Linked DNA regions of Homo sapiens: all the other regions are linked to region 2. Evidence: promoter capture Hi-C in 16 types of primary human blood cells and fetal thymus (Javierre and others, 2016). All regions are on one chromosome and are shown on one strand. Each heading gives the region's core, a stretch centred on a gene start or on the middle of the fragment in contact. The rest is flanking DNA. Distances are from core to core; before and after follow the strand shown.

Region 1 (3,024 bases), core at 498-2,997, 910 kb after region 2:
TATAAGTGGCTGTGGAGTCTAAAAATTCAGGCCTAAGTCTACCACTTTGCAATTCTGTAACCACCCAATGCGTTCATTTTGCCTGCTGCCCACAGGCAAATTTATCAAGACAGGGTAATTGCAATAGAGAAAGAGTTTAATTCATGCAGAGCCAGCTGAACAGGAGACTTTTATTATTGAACAAATCAGCCTTCCTCAAAATTTAGAGGCCAGAGTTTTTTAAGGATAGTTTGGTTGGCAAGGCAATGGGTGCAGCCAGTTCGTTGGGGATGTAATCATAGGGGTGTGGAAGATAGTCCTAGTGTGTTAAGTACACTTCTGGTTGGGAGCACACAGGTGGTTGGTGGGTCCAGGTGGAGCCATTGAGAGTCAGAAATGCAAAAACCTGAAAAGACATCTCAAAAGGCCAATCTTAGGTTCTACAATAGCGATGTCATCTGCAGGAGTAACTGGGGAAGTTGAAAATCTTGTGACTTCTGGAATAGTGGCTGGTAATCATTTATGTTTACACCTTGGGAGGATTCAGGCTCCTCTCATCTCCTAACCTGGTGGTCTTTTATTAGCTTTAAAAGATGGTTTACTTTTGGGGAAGTAGTATTATCATTTAAACTAAAAACTAAATTTCTCCCAAAGTTAGCTTGACCCAAACCCAGCAATACCTAAGGGCAGTTTGGAGGTTAAAGGCAAGATGGAGGTTGGTTAGATCAGATCTTTTTCACTGTTAACAATTTTCTCACTTGTAATTTTTGCAAAGGCTGTTTCAATTCCAGTAGTTTTATAAAAGTGCTCTTTGATTTACTTTGAAAAATTGGGAGTTAGGACAATGTGGCAATTTTTTTTAAGTTTATTTTTTAATATGAAAAATATTGTTAAAAACTTTAGCTGAATTAAATTTAAAAGAGTTTGAGCAAAGAACAATTCGTGAATCAGGCAGCCTCCTGAGCCAGAGTAGGCTCAGAGGCTCCAGTGCAGCTGCATGGTAGAAGATTTATGGACAGAAAAAGGAAAGTGGTGCACAGAAAATGGAAGTGAGGTCCAGAAACAACTGGATTGGTTATAGCTCAGCATTTGACTTATTTGAACATGGTTTGAACAGTTGGCCACATTTGATTGGCCAAAACTCAGTCATTGGCACAAGGGTGGATACAGTCTGTTTGTCTCCAGCTAGGTTAGTTTAGTACATATGGAGAAACCTTTAGGCTGAACTTAAAATATGTAAAAGAGGTAGCTTTAGGCTTAACTTGATTTAACAATATCAAACATACATAAACCAAAAAAAATCTCCTTATATCCAGAGTACTATGTTTGCTGCCAGAATCTTTTTAAATGTAGGAGGCAAGAAACTGAGGGAGCATTCTTTTTAGAGATTAAAACAGACGGTCTCTACTTACCCTGTCTGTATTTTTTCTCAGCCATATTCTCAGCAGTTGATAGCTTGACAGATAATTTTTATGCATTCTAGCTTGATTTGATAAGAAAAGCAGAAGATATTTTACAGAGCCCAAATCAATTAAAATTCATTAGATATATGTTTCTTCTTGTCTATAAAGAGTGAAGTAACTTGGAAAAATCCTCAAACAAAATGACCAAGCCAAACAGGTTCTACCAGTATAGGCAGCAAAATGTGTATAGCACCCTCTGCAATTCCCTTTTAGCAGAGACTTTAGCTCCCTTTTCCTCCTTAGCCAGTATCAATGGGAGCTAAAGCTAAAGAGGTGCCACTGCTTCTCAAGATATACAAATGTCTACTTCTGAAGCCCTCTTTTTTAAGTTCTTGGAAATGTAGAGCTGGTAAGTTGTATTTGCTTCATCAGTTTATTGAAAAGAAATGAATCTAGAGACTCATTACAATTTTTTGTAAGTGATTATTAAATATGTAAAAGTATTTTATTGGAAATAAAGTATTAATAATTATTGTGTAAATAATTATTGTTAATGAGATGAGTAGATGGGAAGGGGTGCAGCTTTTGTGGCATACCTATTAAAAAGAGTTGTCAAATTGTCCCTTTGGTCCCAGAGGATTTTTCAGGTAATGGTAATGATGATAATAAGATTCAGATGTGTGGGAGATGGCATTTCTGCTGTACAGGATTGTGAAGGGGAAGGTAGGAAAAGAGATCCTTAATCTCATGGAAGTTGAAGATTTGTATAGAAATTTAATTCCTTAAAAGTCAAATCTGTGTATTGGTGGAGGTCAGCAAAATGACAGAATGGGACTTCCCAGTGCTTGTCTTCACACAGAAACATAAATTGAACAACTATTCTTGCACAAAAATACTTTAATAAAAGCTAAGGAAACCAGGTGAGAGATGACCGCACCTGGATGTAGCAGAGAAATCAGAAAAAACACATTGAAGAGAGTAGAAAGAACAGTTTTACATGACCTATATTACTGCCCCCAGCCTGCAACCTCAGGCAGCACGTGGAGAAAGATACCCTTTGCTTAGGGGAGGAAGAGGGCAGTAAGCAAAAGATTTTGCCTCAGAACCCAACACCAGGCCCACCTCAGTGAAACTCAGTGCAAGGCAGGCCCCCGTAGCCCCAGACTCCAGGATGGTACCTATGGATTGAGCGTCCAAGCCTACCCTGGTACTAAGCAGGATTCTGCAGCCCAAGGTTCCAGCTCCTCCAACCTCCACCACCAGGCCAGACCCAATTGATGCAAGTTTTAGACTTGTCTTAGGGCCAGGCTGGCCCCAGTGGCCCTGGGCTTAGAGCTACCTTTAGTACCAGGCTGGCTGTCACAGGCAGGCACCTGTGGATACAGGCTTCAAGCTGTCCCAGCTTCAGGCCCTCTCCAGGTTTCAGACCAGCTGAGAGCCAGGTTGGCCCACACAGCCCTGGGCTTCAGGTCTGCCCCAGTACAAGGCCATTCCCTGTAGCCCCACCCTCCAGGCTGGCTGCTGCAACCCCATACTTAAGAGATCCAAGGTTTCAGGACCATCCCAATACATCTCAGCACTATACCAGCTCCCATTGACCCAGGCTGTAAGACCATTTCTGTGGACCCAGGTTCCAGGCCAG
Region 2 (3,066 bases), core at 473-2,972:
GGTAACCTCTCCTTGATTCATTCCATCGTCAAGGGATGAAAGCTCAGTAAGTTCAAGACTTGTTAGGCTGCACACAGTAAAAGGTACACTTACCCCTCGAAGTCTGCCTGGGCACACACCACATGCAGATTTTGGTGCTTTCCCAACCTTCTTGGTATAAAGGTAAACAATTCTATTACCAGGGGTTCGGGACCTAGAAAGTGAAACAGTCAGTAGGTCAGCATTTTGTAGAGTAAATGACAATATATACTTAAAATTTTCAGAAATACTTACAGCCTAGTTTTGTTAGAGGCTGTATTGTAGGAAAGCCTACGTCGGTATGTCAAACGCTGGACCATTCTGAGTGCCTAAATTAAGAATAGAGTAACATCAAATCTTTCCATTGTAAAAGTAAATAAAATCTCAAAACAGTATCATGTGGTCTATTTCATTCACATACATATCCTTGTATGTAACACCCTTAAATTAAGATGTATTATTCCACATTTTAAAACTACTTGTATTTAAAGGTGACTGATAAACAAGAGGCCAAGAATGTTAGCTTTCCTGATGGTAATCAAACGTGGCACTTCCTTAACGTTCTGATGACCAGGCTCCTTACTCAGAGTCTAATTTTGTTTGGAGTGGTGTCCAGAAAAGTGCCACGAGCCCAGTTGGAGAAACACCGCTTTAAACAAAGAGCACAAAAAGTGAGCTCTGAAGTCGAATCCTTAGCTATGCCATTTACTGGGAATATAAAGGGCAAGGAGCTAGCCTCCTTATCTCTAACATGGGAATTCTGTCTACTTTATACAGCTGTCATTAGGATTAAACGACGTGGGCTATCCGTCCCAACACAATGCCTGGCACATATCAGGGTTCAATGTCTTGCCCTAAAGCACCACCTGCGTAAAGGCATACCCTTTAATACTAATTTTGATATTACACAAGTTTCTTTGGGTTATGGCACCTGCTTTCTTCCCACTTCTGGAAACATCGTGATGTTATTTAGCAAATCGGTTATACAGATATGCATACGAGCAACTTCGTTAAGGGAACTACCCAACGTAAAACATAATCAATACTTGAACTAATTTAATCTTCCCATTCCACCCCTTGTAACCACCTCATTTGTTGTCACAAGCCTCTCACTAAAATTAAACTAAAACAGAATTACCAGACACCAAAACTTGACACGTAAAACCAGTGCGAGTGATTTATGAAGCCATTATTCTGTTTGCATCTCCAAAAGCAAGACAGAAACTTCTAACACATTTTTCTCTTCCTTGACATGGGCCTTGGACGCAGAAGCCAAATAGCGAAACCACCCGAACTCGCCGGACCCTGCCCTCCCAAAGACTAAGGACACGTACAGGCGTGCTGTGAAAACGTGGGTGTAAAATATGAAAACGTTTGGCGATTTTCCAGACTCAAACCGCCAAACCACAACTCGTTAGTCTCCAAACGCTACACTTGGAATGCAGCAAAGTCCCGGGTGGTGAGCTGTGGCTACTCACGGCTTTGGAGGTGCCACCAGGAACAAGGGATTTCCAAAGATCAAAGTAAGGAACTTCCTCACCACCAACCTCCCTGTTGTGCCCCTTACCCCTACACCAGCTCAAAGGACTGCTTCTGAGAGCTCTAGGCTTCCTCAGCTCCTCGGATGGCAGCCGATTGGTAAGGAAATAAAGACAGGGAAAAGAGAACAACATCCATACCTGCAGACAACGTCCCCGGAAGAGGAAGAAAAAAGCCTTTGCCAGTTCAAAGGTCAAATAGAATTGCGCAGGACAGGAAGTTGCGTCAGAGAGAGAGTATCCGTGTTGTACGGAAGCCGACGCACCTCTCCGACGTGGGCAGAGATGCAGGGAACCACCACGTTGTACGGCAACCAACGTGCCGCCCCTCTGTGGGCGGGGATTCACACTAGCTGTCTGTGTCAAGGCCACGCAGAAATCTATTGGAAATCGCTGTGGAAACAAACGCAAATGAAAAGCCGCAAAGAGCAAAGGTGGGACAAAATCAACTTCTTTCGTTGTCATGGACACTGCACTTTTAATCTAAAGGGCGCCAGCTCTGGCGTTAGACCTGGGTTTAAATCCCAACTCTTGACATTTATGGTTAAGGGACCTTCAAGGACCAGGGACCTTCAAGAACCTTCCCTTCTTCAACCTTCCCTTCTCTTTCCTTGTCATTTATTCAGAGCACAAGCTTTACAAACAAATTGGGATTTTAATCCAGTGTCTGCTAATTATTAGCTATGTTACTTTGAGCAAGCCCTTAAATCTCTAAAAGGAAGATATTAGGAACTACCGTGCCATGTTATGTCATGATCAAAGGCATTATGAAGTTAAAGCACTTAGCACAGGGTCTTATAGAGAGGAAGTGCTCAGTAAATGGTTGCTAATCTTATGATTATGTACAAAGAACTACTTGAGGCTTTTCATGGGTGGTAAAGTTTAACCTTTAAAACAGTATGTAAAATTTTACATTAAGCGCACGTGTGTATTTTTCTGAGAAGAGGGTCCCTGGCTTTCATCACCTTGTCAAAGGGATTCATGACCTCTAAAAAAGTAAAGAACTCTTTGCCTGGGCTGTAAAAGACAATTCTAAAAGGGGCCTTTAAGTTTTTAATCTTAGATCAGGCTCCCTGGAAACACACCTCGAAGAGACTTGAGTGTTGGCTTATGGGGAGCGCTCTTAGAATGCACCTCCAGGAAGCTGAGAAAGGCGGGGTCAGGTGATCCACAACGTGGTTGCTGTGAGGCAGCTGCATTGCCCCAGAAGAGAGGATTTGGATAGGATATCCCAGTACCCACTCAACTTTCCTTCTAGTATTTCTAATCCATCTAGCAAACCAAGAAAGCAGGCAAGTGACTGAGGGCATGTAGTCTGTCTTGAACTGTGAGGCCTATTGATTCTATCAAGCCTCACATCACTGCCATCTTTGTCACAACACCAGATGGAAGGCTCTGGTTATATCCTTCCCTCTGCTCACTCTCAAATAGCTGCTTCTCCCCCGACCTTGTCATCAGCTACTTCCCTCCTTTCCAGTCCTTTGATTTTTGTCCTCTGAAATCCTTTTCG
Region 3 (3,139 bases), core at 575-3,074, 820 kb before region 2:
AAGCACATCACTCTAACTTCTGCTTCTGTCTTCACATTTCCTTCGCTGCTGGCTCTGACTTGTCCTGTGTCTCTCTAATAAGAACTGCTGTGATTGTATCAGGCCTACCAAGTTCCAGGAAAACCCCATCTCAAGATCCTTAACTTAATCACTGCTGCAAAGGTTTCAGGGATTAGGACATGGACATAGCTGGGGAACCCATTATTCAGCCTACCACATCAGGTATCAATGGCAGATTCTCACACAACTATATTATGATTTCACTTTATGGAAAGCAAGTTTAGAATTCCACTGATTCTAAAATGCACCCCAATTTCAGAGGTAAAAAATGTAAAAAAAAAAAAAAAAAGCATCTTAGAATAAATTAATTTGATTATTGCACTCCCCAAATTGCCCAATACAATGCCTTACATAAGCATCAAATAATCACTGAAAAACTAAAACAGGCTGGGTGCGGTGGCTCACACCTGTGATCCCAGCACTTTGGGAGGCTGAGGCAGGGGGATTGCTTGAGTCCAGGAGTTTGAGACCAGCCCAGGCAACATAGTAAGACTTCATCTCTACAAACATGAAATAAAAAATTACGCAGGTGTGGTGGTTTGTGCCTGTAGTCCCAGTAACTTGGGAGGCTGAGGTGCTAGGCTTGCTTCAGCCCAGGAGATTGAGGCCGCAGTGAGCCAAGATTGCACCACTGCACTCCAGCCTGGGTGACAGAGTGAGACCCTGTCTCAAAAAAATAAATAAAATAAAATAATAAAAATAACAGGCTGGGTGCCGTGGCTCACGCCTGTAATCCCAGCACTTTGGGAGGCTGAGACGGGCGGATCACGAGGTCAGATCGAGACCATCCTGGCTAACACAGTGAAACACCATCTCTACTAAAAATCCAAAAAAAAAAAAAAAAAATTAGCTGGGCGTGGTGGCGGGCGCCTGTTGTCCCAGCTGCTTGGGAGGCTGAGGCAGGAGAATGGTGTGAAGCTGGGAGGCGGAGCTTGCAGTGAGCCGAGATTGCACCACTGCACTCCAGTCTGGGCGACAGAACAAGACTCCGTCTCAAAAAAAAAAAAAAAAAAACAAAGAAAGAAAGAAAAAACTAAAAAAATGGCCAGACGTGCTTGTAATCCCAGCACTTTGGGAGGCTGAGGCAGCAGACTGCTTGAGTCCAGGAGTTCAAGACCAGCCTGGACAACAGAGTGAAACTCCATCTCTACAAAAATTACATAAAATTAGATAGGTGTAGTGGCGCACACCTGTAGTCCCAGCTACTCAAGAGGCTGAGGTGGGAGGATCACCTGACCCCAGGAGATCGAGGTTGCAGTGAGCAGTGATCGCTCCAGCTTGGGTGACAGAGTGAGACCCTGTGTCAAAACAAAAACAAACAAAACAAAAAAATTCAGTTTTTATATAATCTCTGAAAGAATTTTATATTCTTAGCTTCAAGTGAACTATGTCAAATAAAAGAGGGAAACAGATGATTCTGACACATTATCTACTCACTGGTACCAATCTGAATGAAGAAATAAAATATTTTTAACAAATGGTCTATAATATTTTCAATGGAGCTGCTCAGCTGGTCAGCCTGACTGATATATCATGTGCCAGCAAGATACAGCCTATGATTTTCTATAAGCATGTATGCCCTCCTTAGCAGGACTAAATTATCACAAGATCTACCCCCAGGACATATCTGTCTCAGTAGCATAACCTCCTTTCAGACACCAGATTCTCACCAAAGGAAAACTGATTCTCTTGCTTTAAGAAAACCTAACATGAAAATTAAAATTTATAAAACAAATATTTCATGCAAGTCTAGTCCCTGTACCAAAAAAAAAAAAAAAAAAAAATCACAGGATCTCTTTAGGGCATATGAAATACGATTTGGTTTGAAAAATTCTCTACCTGACTTCCCTTTATTCTACTTTCACTTCCCTCTAATTCATTACTAACACCACCAGAGTACTTTTTAACATTCCTTACCACACAATCTTTAATGGCTCTTCTTTGATCCAAATGAAGTCTAAACTTCTTAGGACAATTTCTAGGAACTTCCATTAGCAGCCCCAACATAATTGTAAAAACTATTCTTTTTTTTTTTTTTTTTTGAGATGGAGTTTAGCTCTTGTTGCCCAGGCGATGGCATGATCACGGTTCACTGCAACCTCCACCTCCCGGGTTCCAACAATTCTCCAGCCACAGCCTCCCAAATAGCTGGGATTACATGCACTCGCCACTACACCCAGCTAGTTTTGTATTTTTAGTAGAGATGGGTTTTTACCACGTTGGCCAGGCTGGTCTCGAACTCCTGACCTCAGGTGATCCACCCACCTCAGCCTCCCAAAGTGCTGGGATTACAGGCATGAGCCACCACACCGGGCCCAAACCATTCTTTCATTACTCTCTCTCCCTTGTACCCCTGCACTGCTCAGAGTACGTTTTTTAAATTCCTTACCTTTGATTCATGCATTTTTACCTGACAATTCAAAATGTGTCCATCATTTTAGATATAGCTGAAGTTCTAACTTCCTCCCTTAAGATTCCCTATTACTTTAACCAAAAAGAATTGTTTCCTCTTCAAAACTCTGGGCACCCTTCTCACAGGCCTTATGAAGGAAACACATGTTCAGTGCTGACAGTCCTCTCCTCTTTTACTGAGGGGTACAGAACTCCTGGAGTGCAGAGAACATTCACATTTGTATGCCCAGAGTATCTAGCACAAAATGTTATGTAAAGAGGAGCTACATAAATATTTGCTAGGAATTGTAAATTAAATTTATAGGCCAGGCATGGTGGTTCATGCCTGTAATCCCAGCACTCTGGGAGGCAGAGGTTGGAGGGTCACTTGAGCCTAGGAGTTTGAGACCATCCCAGGCAACACAGTGAGATCTCGTCTCTAAAATAAAAGTTATATATAACTGTTAGGATTACATATGCATTGCATAAAATAAGGTTCAGGTGTTTAAGATCAAAATTGATGGTAAATGAGATAATCGGAGGGACAAAGTTCTTAAAAGAGAGGGAACAGAATTCTGTACCCAAATAATCTGAATTTGTCTCAGATAACACAAGAATAATATGCAGGAAGACTGACAGATTTGGTGGCAGAAGATTAATACTTTATCTTCAGATTGTCAGATTGCTT
Region 4 (2,939 bases), core at 217-2,716, 800 kb before region 2:
GGACACACTGCTATTTATTGTATGCAAGGCAAGGGGGCAGGGTAAGGAGTTTGAGTCATCTCAAATGATTAATAAGGTCAAGCAAGTCACGTGTCCACGTGACGGGGGGCCTTTCCCTTTGTGATAGCTGAAGCAGAGAGGGAGGACAGTATATGTCAGCATTTCTTCTGTGCACTTATCAGGAAGATCAAAGACTTTAGTACTTTCACTAATTTTGTTACTGCTATCTTTTAAGAACTTAAAAGGAGGTGCCAGGTGTACAGGCAGAACATGAAAGTGGACAAGGAGCATGACCACTGAAGCACAGCACCACAGATGTTTAAGCCTCCAGATGACTGCGGGCAGGCCTGGCTAATGTCAGGACTCCCACAAGAGTTGGTGGAGCAGTGTTCTCTAACTCCCCCCGGGGAAAGGGAGACTCGCTTTCCCGGTCTGCTAAGTAACGGGTGCCTTCCCAGGCACTGGCGCTACCGCTAGACCAAGGTCTGCCGAGTAACGGGTGCCTTCCCAGGCACTGGCCCTACCGCTAGACCAAGGTCTGCCAAGTAATGGGTGCTTTCCCAGGCACTGACCTTACCGCTAGACCAAGGAACCCTCAAGCGGCCCTTATCCGGGCGTGACAGAGGGCTCACACTCTTGTCCTTTGGTTACTTCTCACCATGTCCCTTCAGCTCCTGACTCTGTATGGCCTGGTGTTTTCTAGGTTATGATTATAAAACAGAGATTATTATAATACTAAAAGAGCAACACTACCAACTAAAGATTGATAATATTCATATATAATCATGTCTATATCTTATTTTTAGTATAACTTTTTGTATTCTAATTATTTTCTTTTATTATACTGGAACAGCTTGTGCCTTCAGTCTCTTGCCTCAGCACCTGGGTGGCTTTCCGCCCACAAGTAGAGATGGGGTTTCTGCATGTTGGTCAGGCTGGTCTCGAACTCCCGACCTCAGGTGATCCACCTGCCTCGGCCTCCCAAAGTGCTGAGATTATAGGCATGAGCCACCGTGCCCAGCCTGCTTACTTTCAAAATAAGGTAAAAGTCTGAGGAAAAAATAATAGTTCCCATTTCTGGAGCATTTAGGCTGTGCCAGGCATTGTTCTATGTATGTTCATGTATTATTTCCTCAAAAAAGTACACACTTTAATTCTGCAGATGAGAAATCTGAAACTCAAAGAGATTGAGAATCTTCTCCACACACATGATTATCCCAATAATCTGGTGAGTTGAATGAGAAATAGAAGTCAAAGAGGAAGAAGGCAGGGTTGCCTGAAAGATTCCAGAATCTGGATATAAAGGTGCATTCTCCAGCAGCTGCTGATGGCCACTAACAGGATTTTCTCTTATATATCTTAGTTGGGCATGAAGGGTATGAGAGATTTCAAGCATACTGAGGAATGACACTTTCAATTGCTTCCCCAGCCAAGTAGCTTCAATGGACAGATTACCCAGAATTTAAAACAAGAAAAAATATAATCTAATTAGATCACTTATATTACTTTGTCATTGCCATATCTTTCTAACAATTTAAAAAAAAATGGACTTTTAAAAAAAGCCCCGTATCTGAGGCTCTAAAATCCAACAGTCCTCTTCGTTTTAATGCTTAATTTTGTTTTTGTTTTTGTTTTGAGATGGAGTCTCGCTCTGTCACCAGGCTGGAGTGCAATGGCGCAATCTCAGCTCACTGCAACCTCCGCCTCCCCGGTTCAAGCAATTCTCCTGCCTCAGCCTCCCGAAATGATTAGTTTTACAAACAGACCAGAAGCGGGGCGCAGTGGCTCACGCCTGTAATCCCAGCACTTTAGGAGGCCGAGGTGGGCGGATCACAAGGTCAGGAGTCTGAGACCAACCTGGCCAATATGATGAAACCCCGTCTCTACTAAAAATACAAAAATTAGCCCGTAGTGGTGGCCTGCGCCTGTAGTCCCAGGGCTTGGGAGGCTGAGGCAGGAGAATCGCTTGAACCCGGGAAGCGGAAGTTGCAGTGAGCCAGGATCGCGCTGCTGCACTCCAGCCTGGGCGACAGAGCGAAACTCCGTCTTAAACAAACGAACAAACAAAAAACAAAAACAAACAAACAAAAACCCAAAACAAAAAAACCAGACCAGAAAGCCCCAACCCGCTTTTCCATCTGGACGCTCTTCCTACGTAGTCTACAATGTCGGTGGGCTTCCACCGCCATCTGGTGGACGATGTGTAGATGTGCTCTGACTTGAGGAGACTTCGCTGGCGTGGAGAGGAATGTGATTAATGAGAAGAGTTTTCCATTCATGCAATTGATTTGAAAGCAATGCATAGGAATCTAAAAACTGAATAGATAAAAGTGCTTACTTCTAGGCAATCAAAAAGGGGAACAATTTGTATGTGTTGACTTATTGACTAGGATGAGATGGAACCAAATAAATTAACATTTTCTTTAATGCTGCTAGAATCCTTCAACTTCGCACTACATAGCATGCAACACTTTTTGAACAGTCCCAGCACCATGAATCTGCTTAAGTAAAGCTGTTTATGCAGTCGTCTCATCTGAGAGTACAGGAAACTCTGTATCTACATCCATTTCTGTTTATCTTTATAGTCCCCTTGTCCCACACCTAAAATTTCAACATTAAGAATCTACTTTCTCACTGGGGCCTGTCAGGGGGAGTGGGGGAAGGGAGAGCACCAGGAAAAATAGTTAATGCATGCTGGACTTAGTACCTAGATGATGGGTTGATAGATGCAGCAAACCACCATGGCACATGTTTACCTATGTAAAAAACCTGCACATCCCATACATGTACCCTGGAACTTAAAATCATAAAATAAAATAAAAAGAATCTACTTTCTGAGCTGGGCGCGGTGGCTCACATCTGTAATCCCACCACTTTAGGAGGCTAAGCTGGGAGGATCACTTGATCTTAGTTGTCCAAGACCAGCCTGGGCAACAGAA
Region 5 (2,772 bases), core at 84-2,583, 650 kb after region 2:
TGGGGGTGGTGGCACGTGCCTGTAATCCCAGTTACTCGGGAGGCTGAGGCACAAGAATTGCTTGAACCTAGGAGGTGGAGGTTGCAGTGAATCGAGTTTGAGCCACTGCACTCCAGCCTGGGTGACAGAGAGAGACTGTCTCAAAAAAAAAATTATATCTCAAAAATTAACTCAAGATGGATTAAAGACTTAAATGTAAAACCCAAAACTATAAAAACTCTAGAAGATAACCTAGGCAATACCATTCAGGACATAGGCACTGGCAAAGATTTCATGATAAACATACCAAAAGCAATTGCAACAAAAGCAAAAATTGACAAATGGGATCTAATTAAACTAAAGAGGTTCTATACAGCAAAAGAGACTATCAACAGAGTAAACAGACAACCCACAGAATGGGAGAAAAATTTTGCAAACTACATTCAACAAAGGTCTGATATCAAAAGTCTATAAGGAACTTAAACAAATTTACAAGAAAAAACAAACAATCTCATTAAAAAGTGGGCAAAGGATATGAACAGACACTTCTCAAAAGAAGACATACATGTGGCCAACAATTATATAAAAAAGCTCAGTATCGCTAATCATTAGAGAAATGCAAATCAAAACCACAGTGAGAAACCATTTCACACCAGTAAGATTGGCTGTTAAGAAAATAAAAAAATAACAGATGCTAGTGAGGTTGTGGAGAAAAAGGAATGCTTATACATTGTTGATGGGAGTGTAAATTAGTTCAACCATTGTGGAAGACAGTGTGGTGATTCCTCAGAGACCTAAAGACAGAACTACTTTTTGAGCCAGCAATCTATTACTGGATATATACCCAAAGGAATATAAATCATTATATTATAAAGACACATGCACACATGTTCATTGCAGCACTATTCACAATAGCAAAAACATGGAGTCAATCTAAATGCCCATCAATGATAGACTGGGTAAAGAAAATGTGGTACATATACAACATGGAATACTATGCAGCCATAAAAAAGAATGAGATCATATCCTTCACAGGGATGTGGATGGAGCTGGAGGCCATTATCCTTAGCAAACTAATGCAGGAACAGAAAACCAAATACCTCATGCTCTCACTTATAAGTGGGAGCTAAATGATAAGAACACATGGACACATAGAGGGGAACAACACACACTGGGGCCTATCTCAAGGTGGAGGGTGGGAGGAGGGAGAGGATCAGGAAAAATCACTAATGGGTACTAGGTTTAATACCTGGGTGATGAAATAATCTGTACAATAAACCCCCATAGAAGTGACTATGTTGTCTGGGGTATATACCCTGGGGTTCATGGTCGTGCACCAGGAAAATGTTAAGACATGGACAAACAAGAGGAGTTTAGGAGTGGAGGTTTAATAGGCAGAAGAGAAGAGAAAGAGAAACAGCTTTCTCTATAGAGAGAGTGGGGTCCCTGAATGGAAAAGACCTGCAGGTGGCATTGAATTTTATAGTCAGGTTTGAGGAGGCAGTGTCTGATTTACAAAGGGTTCACAGATAGGTTCGATCAGGTATGACATTTACATAGCAGATGGGGAAAGGCCGGTTGTCTCACCCTAATCTTATTATGCAAATGGGCTTTCCAGTTGATCTGAGCCATCTTGTCTGCTTCTTACTGTACACATGGCTGGCAGAGAAGGGAAGATGAAGCTGCCATCTTAAACATGTCTAGCCCCTAGTTCCTGCCAGCATTCACCCATGCAAGCTCCCAGCTTCCTCGTCTATGTCTGCCGCTTGACTTTACAGGCTGCTCTTTGTTAGACAATGATTTGGGGCTGCTTTTCATTAAAGAGAAAAGCCTTACCGAGGACTTCTGTACCCTCACTATCTGCCTAAGTGATTTCTTCTTAACTCCTGTATCACCATGACACAGTTATCCTATGTAACAAACCTGCACATGTACCCCTGAACTTAAAAGTTTAACACAATAATTTGTATCTTTTGCCTGTTTTTAAAATTAGGGTATTCTACTACTGAATTATAGCACTTACAGTTCACTAGAAGAAATACTATGCTATAGTATATGAAAATATTAAAGATACTATATATTATAGTATATATGGATTTATAAGCACTGACTTATAAGCACTTTATATATTAAGGATATTGAATTTTTGGCAAGGCTGATACAAACATTTTTTCATGATTTGCCAGCCGTTTTTTGGAATACAAGAGTTTTCTATTTTTATGTCATTAAGTGTATGCTGTTTTAGTTTTCTGATTGATTCTATTATTTTTTTAAGAGTTGGATTTTTTCTTTTTTTCTTTAAACAGCCTTATTGAAGAACATTGATGGATAAAAATTGTACATATTTAAGGTATACAACTTGATGTTTTGATGTATGTATACATTGTGAAATGGTCTTCACAATCAAACCAATTAACATATCTATCACCTCACCAAGTTACCATTTTCTTTTTCTTCTTTTATTATTATCTTTTTTTGTGGCAAAAACATTTAAGATCTACTTCTTAGAAAATTTCAAGTAAGGAATATTGTTAATCATAGCCACCAGGCTGTACATTAGATCTGTAGAACGTATTCATCCTGCATATTGAAACTTTTTATCCTTTGACCAGCATTACCGTTTCTCCCTCCCTACTGCCCCTGGCAACCACCATTCGCTTTATAATTCTATGAGTGCGACTATTTTAGGTTTCACACATCAATGGGATCAAGCAGTATTTGTTTTTCTGTGTCTGCCTTATTTCATTTAGCATAATATCCTCCAGGTTCATCCATGTTGTTGCAAATGGCAAA
Region 6 (2,993 bases), core at 202-2,701, 780 kb before region 2:
TAAAAATTACTATTGTACTTAGGAAGTATTTTTAATATTGAAGTTGACCTAAATTGTACTGAAATACTTGAACCTTCTGGTTGGGTCATATGGTATGGACTGTGTGCCACATAAAAATGCCTTTTATGTATTAATTGTGCCTATATTTCTTTAGCATCTGCCTCTCTCATTGGACTATAGACACCACAAAGACTGTTTTATGTCAACAGTGTCTATATAAATAGGTGCTTAAAATTTTTTGTAGAATCAACTGGCAAATGAATAAATGATGATAAACATTGCTGAATTAAATAAATGAAATATAAGCCAGGGCTAAATTCAACCTTAGTAAACAAATTTGTGAACTGTGAGCCATCCAGACTATTCCTAAGACTGAGTGTAGAAGTCCACTGGTAGGAGACTTCTACCAGTTTACATTTAAGATCTTAAGGAACTTACCATCTTGGTTGTTTCCTAAACTTTCTAGATCCTTAACTTCTACTGCAGAATACAGTTTTTAGCTTTCTTGCTTTCTTTTCTTTCTTTCTTTCTTTCTCTTTCTTTCTTTCTTTCTTTCTTTCTTTCTTTCTTTCTTTCTTTCTTTCTTTCCTTCTTTCTTCTTTCTTTCTTTCCTTCCTTCCTTCCTTCTTTCCTTCCTTCCTTCTTTCCCTCCTTCCTTCTCTCTCTTTCTTCCTTCTCTTTCTTTCTTTCTTTCTTTCTTTCTTTCTTTCTTTCTTTCTTTCTTTCTTTCTTTCTTTCCTCTCTCTCTCTCTCTTTCTCTCCTTCCTTCCTTCTTTCTTTTTTTTTTTCTGGAGTCTCACTCTGTCACCCAGGCTGGAGTGCAGTGGTGAGATCTTGGCTCATTGCAATCTCCGTCTCCCGGGTTCAAGCAATTCTCCTGCCTCAGCCTCCTGGGTAGCTGGGATTACAGGCGTGTGCCACAATGCCTGGCTAATTTTTGTATTTTTAGTAGAGATGGAGTTTTGCCATGTTGGCCAGGCTGGTCTCAAACTCCTGACCTCAAGTGATTCGCCCGTCTCGGCCTCCCAGAGTGTTGGGATTACAGGTGTGAGCCACCGCGCCTGGCCAACACCTTGTTTCCTGACTCTGCTGTTTCATGACAATAAACCCAACATTCAGATAACCAATAGCTGCATAATACTTTCCAATTTCATCTATGATCTCTAGTCTCACTAGATATGCCAGGTCCATGTCAATAAGCATTATTGTCACCCAGGCTGTAGCGCAGTGGCATGATCACAGCTCACTGCAGCCTTGACTGCTGGGGCTCAAGCGATCCTCTGCCTCAGCCTCTTGAGGAGCTAGGACCACAGCACATGCCACCACACCCAGCTAGTTTTTTTAAAAAAAATATTTGTAGAGACAAGGTTTTGCTGTGTTGCTCAGGCTGTTGTCGAACTCCTGGCCTCAAGTGATCCTCCTGCCTTGGCCTCCCAAAGTGCTGGGATTACAGGCGTGAACCACGGGGCCCAACCTTGTGTTTGGTTCTGTGCTAGTATTCTACATACACCATGATGTTTTATTCCTTTATGCCTTTATTAATTGTGATTTCACCACCTTGAATACTTTTTCCTTCCTTCTTTACTTGTGTAACTGCTATACATTCTTTAAGGCTTATCTCGGGCATTACTAGCTCCATAAATCCTTTCTTGAGGCACAAAGCTGGAGTCCCATAAGCTGCTAAACATAGCTCTATTGGAGAACTTAGTATATTTTGTTTTGGTACACATAAACATTACCTGTTTATACATCCATGTTTTCCATTAGATATGAGTTCCTCAAAGTAAAGCAATCAGAAGCACATTAAAGAGAAATACCTCCTATTTCCATTATCAAATATACAAACCTACTTGTTTCAGTATCCAAATACTCTGTCTTACTTCCAAGAGAAATGGATGGACAGCCATTGATTCAGCTAAGGCCGATTCATCTGTTTGGGCACTTCCCTTGCACTTGATTTACAGTTTGTCTAGGTATAGAATTCTACTTTGGAAATAGTTTTCTTTCAGGAGTTTGAAGCCATTGCTTCATTGTCTTCTTGCTTCCGGTGTTGCTAAGAAATCTAAATCATTCCTATCATTCCTTCTTTGTTTATAAAAAGAACTCTGTATTATAGAAAATTTAAAATATGTTCAAAGAGAATTATATGATGAATATATAATATAATGAATTCCCATGTACCCATCACTCCACAATTGTCAATGTATAGCCAGTTGCATTGCCTCTACAGCACATCCCCCACTTCTGACCTTTTAATTATTTTATTTTATTTGTTTATTTACTTCCTTTTTTGAGGCAGGGTCTGGCTCTGTCACTCAGGCTGGAGTGTAGTGGTGCGATCATGGTTCACTGCAGCTTTGAACTCCTGGCCTCAAGGAATCCTCCCACCTCAGACTCCTGAGTAGTTGGGATTATAGGTGTGCACCACCACGCCTGGCTAATTTTCTGTAGAGATGGGGTTTTGCCATGTGGCCCAGGCTGGTCTCAAACTCCTGGGCTAAAGCAGTCTGCCCACCTCGGCCTCTCAAAGTGTTGGGATTACAGGTGTGAGCCACCACACATGGCCAACTTTCAATTATTTTAAATCAAAATCCAGAATTACTCTGTTTTATTGTAAATATTCAGTATTTTTCTCTAAAAGAGATAAAGGATCATATTTCCAATCCTTTGCATGTAATTAGTTTTATTCTCTCTGAGAGTTTAGGAAATTATTTTTCTTCTTAGAGTTCTGAAATTTTATGATATGTCCATTGTGCCTGTTTTTCTGTGGGCCTTTTCTATCTGTAATCTCATGTTCTTTGCTTCCAAGAAATGTTCTTGAATTGTTTCATTGATGATTTCTTTGCCCCATTACTCAGATGTTGGACCTCTTAGAATGGTACTCTAACTTTCTTTCCTTTCTGTTTTTCATCACTTTGATTTTTGGTTCCACTTTTCTGACAGATTTTCTCAACTTTCTCTTCCTACCCACCTATCACAGTTTCCATTTCTGC
Region 7 (2,874 bases), core at 272-2,771, 800 kb after region 2:
GCAGTTCCCATGACACAGGATGGAAACCATAACCTTCTCAGGTATCCGTACTAAAAATGTTTAACTTGCTGAAAACATCACTTCCCAATCTAAGGAACTTGCCAAAGGATTTCACATGCTAACCCTCGGCCCACCAGGCTTATAAGGAGGACATTCTGTGGAAATTAATTGGTTATTACCTAAGCCAGCTGCAACACACTATTATTTATATATAAACAGCTATAATTTGTTGGGGTCTGCTTTGTACCAGACATTATGAGAAGTCTTTTGCGCTTTAATCCTCATTATTATCCTCATTATTAATCCTTATTTAATCCACCTTATTATCTGAAGTAGCTATAATCCCATTTTACTGGTTCAGAATGTTTAATGTGCCTGAGCACCCACCGTTAATAGAGGAGACTGGTAATGAAACCAAGGATTTGAAAAGTTAGGTACAGATTGAAAACCCACGCCGAATCCAGTGACACTAAACAGTTGAATCTCTTCAAAATATAACACACATGTCAAAATGATTTTAAGGTCATTTCAGAGCAGGCAAGACTTGAAATAGAGGACCGGCAACATTAATAAATAAAAAAGACTACAGGACATAACATTTTGAGTTGGTTTCAAGCCGTGGATAATTAATGATTATCCATACCTCTGGATGGATGTTGACAGGGGTTCCCCGCCCCTTATTTTCGCTGAGAAACCAAGTCTTCCCTTCCGTAAAGGGAGCAGCTCTGGAATGCCACACGTTGAAGGGTTTCGGTGTGGGCTGCCCAGAGCTGGGCTGTTACTGTTCACACATCATCAGTAAGTGCCTCTCAAAAAAAAAAAAAAAAAAAAAGAGAAAGAAAAGAAAAACCACACACACAAACACACACACACAGTCCCTCCTCCACCAACTGAACTTCAGCCCTGACCTCCGGAGTGGTTCTGGACAATCTGGGGTTTAACCTGTGCCCTTCCAACGCCAGGACCGGGGTACCCGAAATGGGTTGCAAATGAATGAGATGACTGCTCAGAGGAAGGAGACTAAGGCACACATCTCTCCTCCAGACCACAAAATCGAGGAAGCATGCCCTGGGCGGGGAGGGTGGGGGCCGGATTAGAGCCACGTCCCCGCTTCGCAATCCACCTTTCCCCTCCCGCGCTTCGGAGGACTCTCCGCTCCCCAGCCCATCCTCCTCCTGGCCCCTCCGCGCGCTCCTTACCCGCTGGTGGCCAGGGCTCCAGACACTCCCAGCTGAAGGCACTTGCTCCCGGGAAGGGGATTTGCCAGGGGATGGAGCCCGCTGCCGCAGCCGCCGCGACCAGCCCCGGGCGTCACCACCCTCGGGCCGAAGCCGCTAGAAAGTTTGCTCGGGGTCTCGCCCTCCCACGCCGCGGCCTGACTAGGGGAAGCAGCTCTCCGGGTCCCTCCCGCGGCCGCCGCCCCCGAGGCCGCACTCGGCGGCGCTGCAGCACCGGCCAGGCTCCGTGCGCGCCGAGGGCTGGGTCTCCCCGCCCCACTCGGCCCACGGCGCGGCGCTCAGTGTTGACCGCGGCCCCGCGCCCGCTCTCCCCGCCCGCCGCGCGCGGCCCGCTCCCTGCGCCCTGCGCCCAGCGCGCTCTTGACATCATTCATTCTCTCACACCCTCGCCCGCCCACTCCATTTCCAAACAGTGACTCACCCGTCGGCCCGGTGGCAGCAGTGCCCGTTCCTGCTGCCGTGGCTCTCCTGGCGCAGAGTGGAGCTCGAAAAACCTGCGCGACTTCTTAAGAAGAAAATCCCAGCCGACTCTCCCCTCGCGGCTGTTTAAGGTGCAGAGAAGGAGGGGCTTGGCAGGCAGGGCAGTTTGGCTCCCGGCCGAAAGGCTGAGGGCCTGGAGCTGACCTCCCTGAGCGGCAACAGAGATCAATCTGGGAAAGTTCTTTGGGTGCCACTCCCAGCAACTTTCAGGGGTGGGGCTGGAACGGGATCCCCCACCCCCGCACCCGGCCTGTTTCGGAAACTGCTTCCTGACGGCGTGTGAGTGGGCTTGGGAGCGCCAGCGTTGATTCAGAGGGTTTATCGGTGTTGACCGGGCCTAGGTCAAAGAGGTGGGTTTCCAAACCTCACAGCGTTGCCTGGCAAGGTTAGTCATCAGTCCGCATGGTATGAGCTGGAAGGTTGCTCCAAGCTAATGAGGTGGCAGCACTGTCCCTTTCGTGCCTAACCATCGTGTCATTTGTCCTGTTAATTGATTTACTTCTCACTTAAGGAATCGTAACCAAAATAAACAGTGTAAGTAGTTATTTGCTTAACTGAATACTGCGCTTTTCCGCAGCTTTTGGGGCCCAAGGCAGCCGTGTGGTTTCTTCGAAGGCCTCAGTAGTTTTTTAAAAGGGGGATTGCTGTCTTTAAAATGGTAATGGTTCTACATTGTCCTGGAGTTGCTATTCATACACCTGCTGGGCAGTTTTCAAAGTAAACGATGGCAGCCTCAAGGACTCTAACTAGGAATGACCAATCCGAGGGAATGTGGCTAAATCTTTCTTGACATAAGTTTTACATTAATGTCTCCTTCTGGACAAGATAATTATGTTTAGGATTTGCGCTGGTTTATGGGTGCTTCCATATAATCAACAAAAATAATGACGGGAATCTTTGGGTTTCTAGTGCAGATATCATGTGGGTCAACAGTCATTTGTGGCTATTAAAGATGATGGTAACAGAAAAGAATATACAAGGCAGGCAATCCCCAAACTCGCAACTTCAAGATGTCGTCACAGTACAGGCAACCAAAGAAAATGGACAAATGGGATCATATTAAGCTAAAAAGCTTCTGCACAGCAAAGGAAACAAACTGAAGAGACAACCCACAGAATGGGAACTATCCATCTGACAAGGGATTAATAACCAGAAT

The links. The method cuts DNA at HindIII sites, captures the fragments that hold promoters and counts their contacts. A CHiCAGO score of 5 or more calls a contact.
Region 1: a fragment that was not itself captured here is called in contact with the fragment with the promoter of RPL34 in region 2 in 3 of 17 cell types (naive B cells, total B cells and monocytes); the score reaches 7.7 in naive B cells.
Region 3: a contact is called between a fragment that was not itself captured here and the fragment with the promoter of RPL34 in region 2, in 1 of 17 cell types (monocytes). The highest score is 5.8, in monocytes.
Region 4: a contact is called between a fragment that was not itself captured here and the fragment with the promoter of RPL34 in region 2, in 1 of 17 cell types (monocytes). The highest score is 6.6, in monocytes.
Region 5: a contact is called between a fragment that was not itself captured here and the fragment with the promoter of RPL34 in region 2, in 2 of 17 cell types (non-activated CD4 T cells and naive CD8 T cells). The highest score is 5.4, in non-activated CD4 T cells.
Region 6: a contact is called between a fragment that was not itself captured here and the fragment with the promoter of RPL34 in region 2, in 1 of 17 cell types (naive CD8 T cells). The highest score is 5.1, in naive CD8 T cells.
Region 7: a contact is called between the fragment with the promoter of SGMS2 here and the fragment with the promoter of RPL34 in region 2, in 2 of 17 cell types (M2 macrophages and M0 macrophages). The highest score is 7.6, in M2 macrophages.

What each region holds. Positions count from the first base shown.
Region 1 is chr4:107,707,011-107,710,034 of GRCh38, reverse strand. The region is part of intron 1 of PAPSS1 (3'-phosphoadenosine 5'-phosphosulfate synthase 1); the gene reads left to right. Among named protein-coding and RNA genes, the nearest start is that of PAPSS1, 12 kb to the left of the region's middle. The HindIII fragment of the contact is 3,967 bases long and covers 1-3,024 here.
Region 2 is chr4:108,619,232-108,622,297 of GRCh38, reverse strand. RPL34 (ribosomal protein L34) reads right to left here and starts at 1,722. Exons shown (of 5, transcript NM_001319236.2): 1 at 1,698-1,722; 2 at 274-347; 3 at 94-193. The coding sequence starts at 338. It overlaps RPL34-DT (RPL34 divergent transcript), which reads left to right and starts at 1,841. Exons shown (of 4, transcript NR_026968.1): 1 at 1,841-1,990. RefSeq lists enhancers at 1,710-1,759, 985-2,184. The HindIII fragment of the contact is 3,742 bases long and covers 1-2,192 here.
Region 3 is chr4:109,443,178-109,446,316 of GRCh38, reverse strand. The region is part of intron 1 of SEC24B (SEC24 homolog B, COPII component); the gene reads right to left. Among named protein-coding and RNA genes, the nearest start is that of SEC24B-AS1, 11 kb to the right of the region's middle. The HindIII fragment of the contact is 4,493 bases long and covers 1-3,139 here.
Region 4 is chr4:109,421,834-109,424,772 of GRCh38, reverse strand. No RefSeq gene overlaps it. Among named protein-coding and RNA genes, the nearest start is that of SEC24B, 11 kb to the left of the region's middle. The HindIII fragment of the contact is 4,993 bases long and covers 1-2,939 here.
Region 5 is chr4:107,965,920-107,968,691 of GRCh38, reverse strand. All of the region lies in intron 1 of LOC107986298 (a long non-coding RNA gene), which reads left to right. Among named protein-coding and RNA genes, the nearest start is that of HADH, 23 kb to the left of the region's middle. The HindIII fragment of the contact is 4,481 bases long and covers 1-2,772 here.
Region 6 is chr4:109,402,054-109,405,046 of GRCh38, reverse strand. No RefSeq gene overlaps it. Among named protein-coding and RNA genes, the nearest start is that of SEC24B, 30 kb to the left of the region's middle. The HindIII fragment of the contact is 3,341 bases long and covers 1-2,993 here.
Region 7 is chr4:107,823,579-107,826,452 of GRCh38, reverse strand. It overlaps SGMS2 (sphingomyelin synthase 2), which reads right to left and starts at 1,521. Exons shown (of 7, transcript NM_001375905.1): 1 at 1,200-1,521. The HindIII fragment of the contact is 3,698 bases long and covers 1-2,792 here.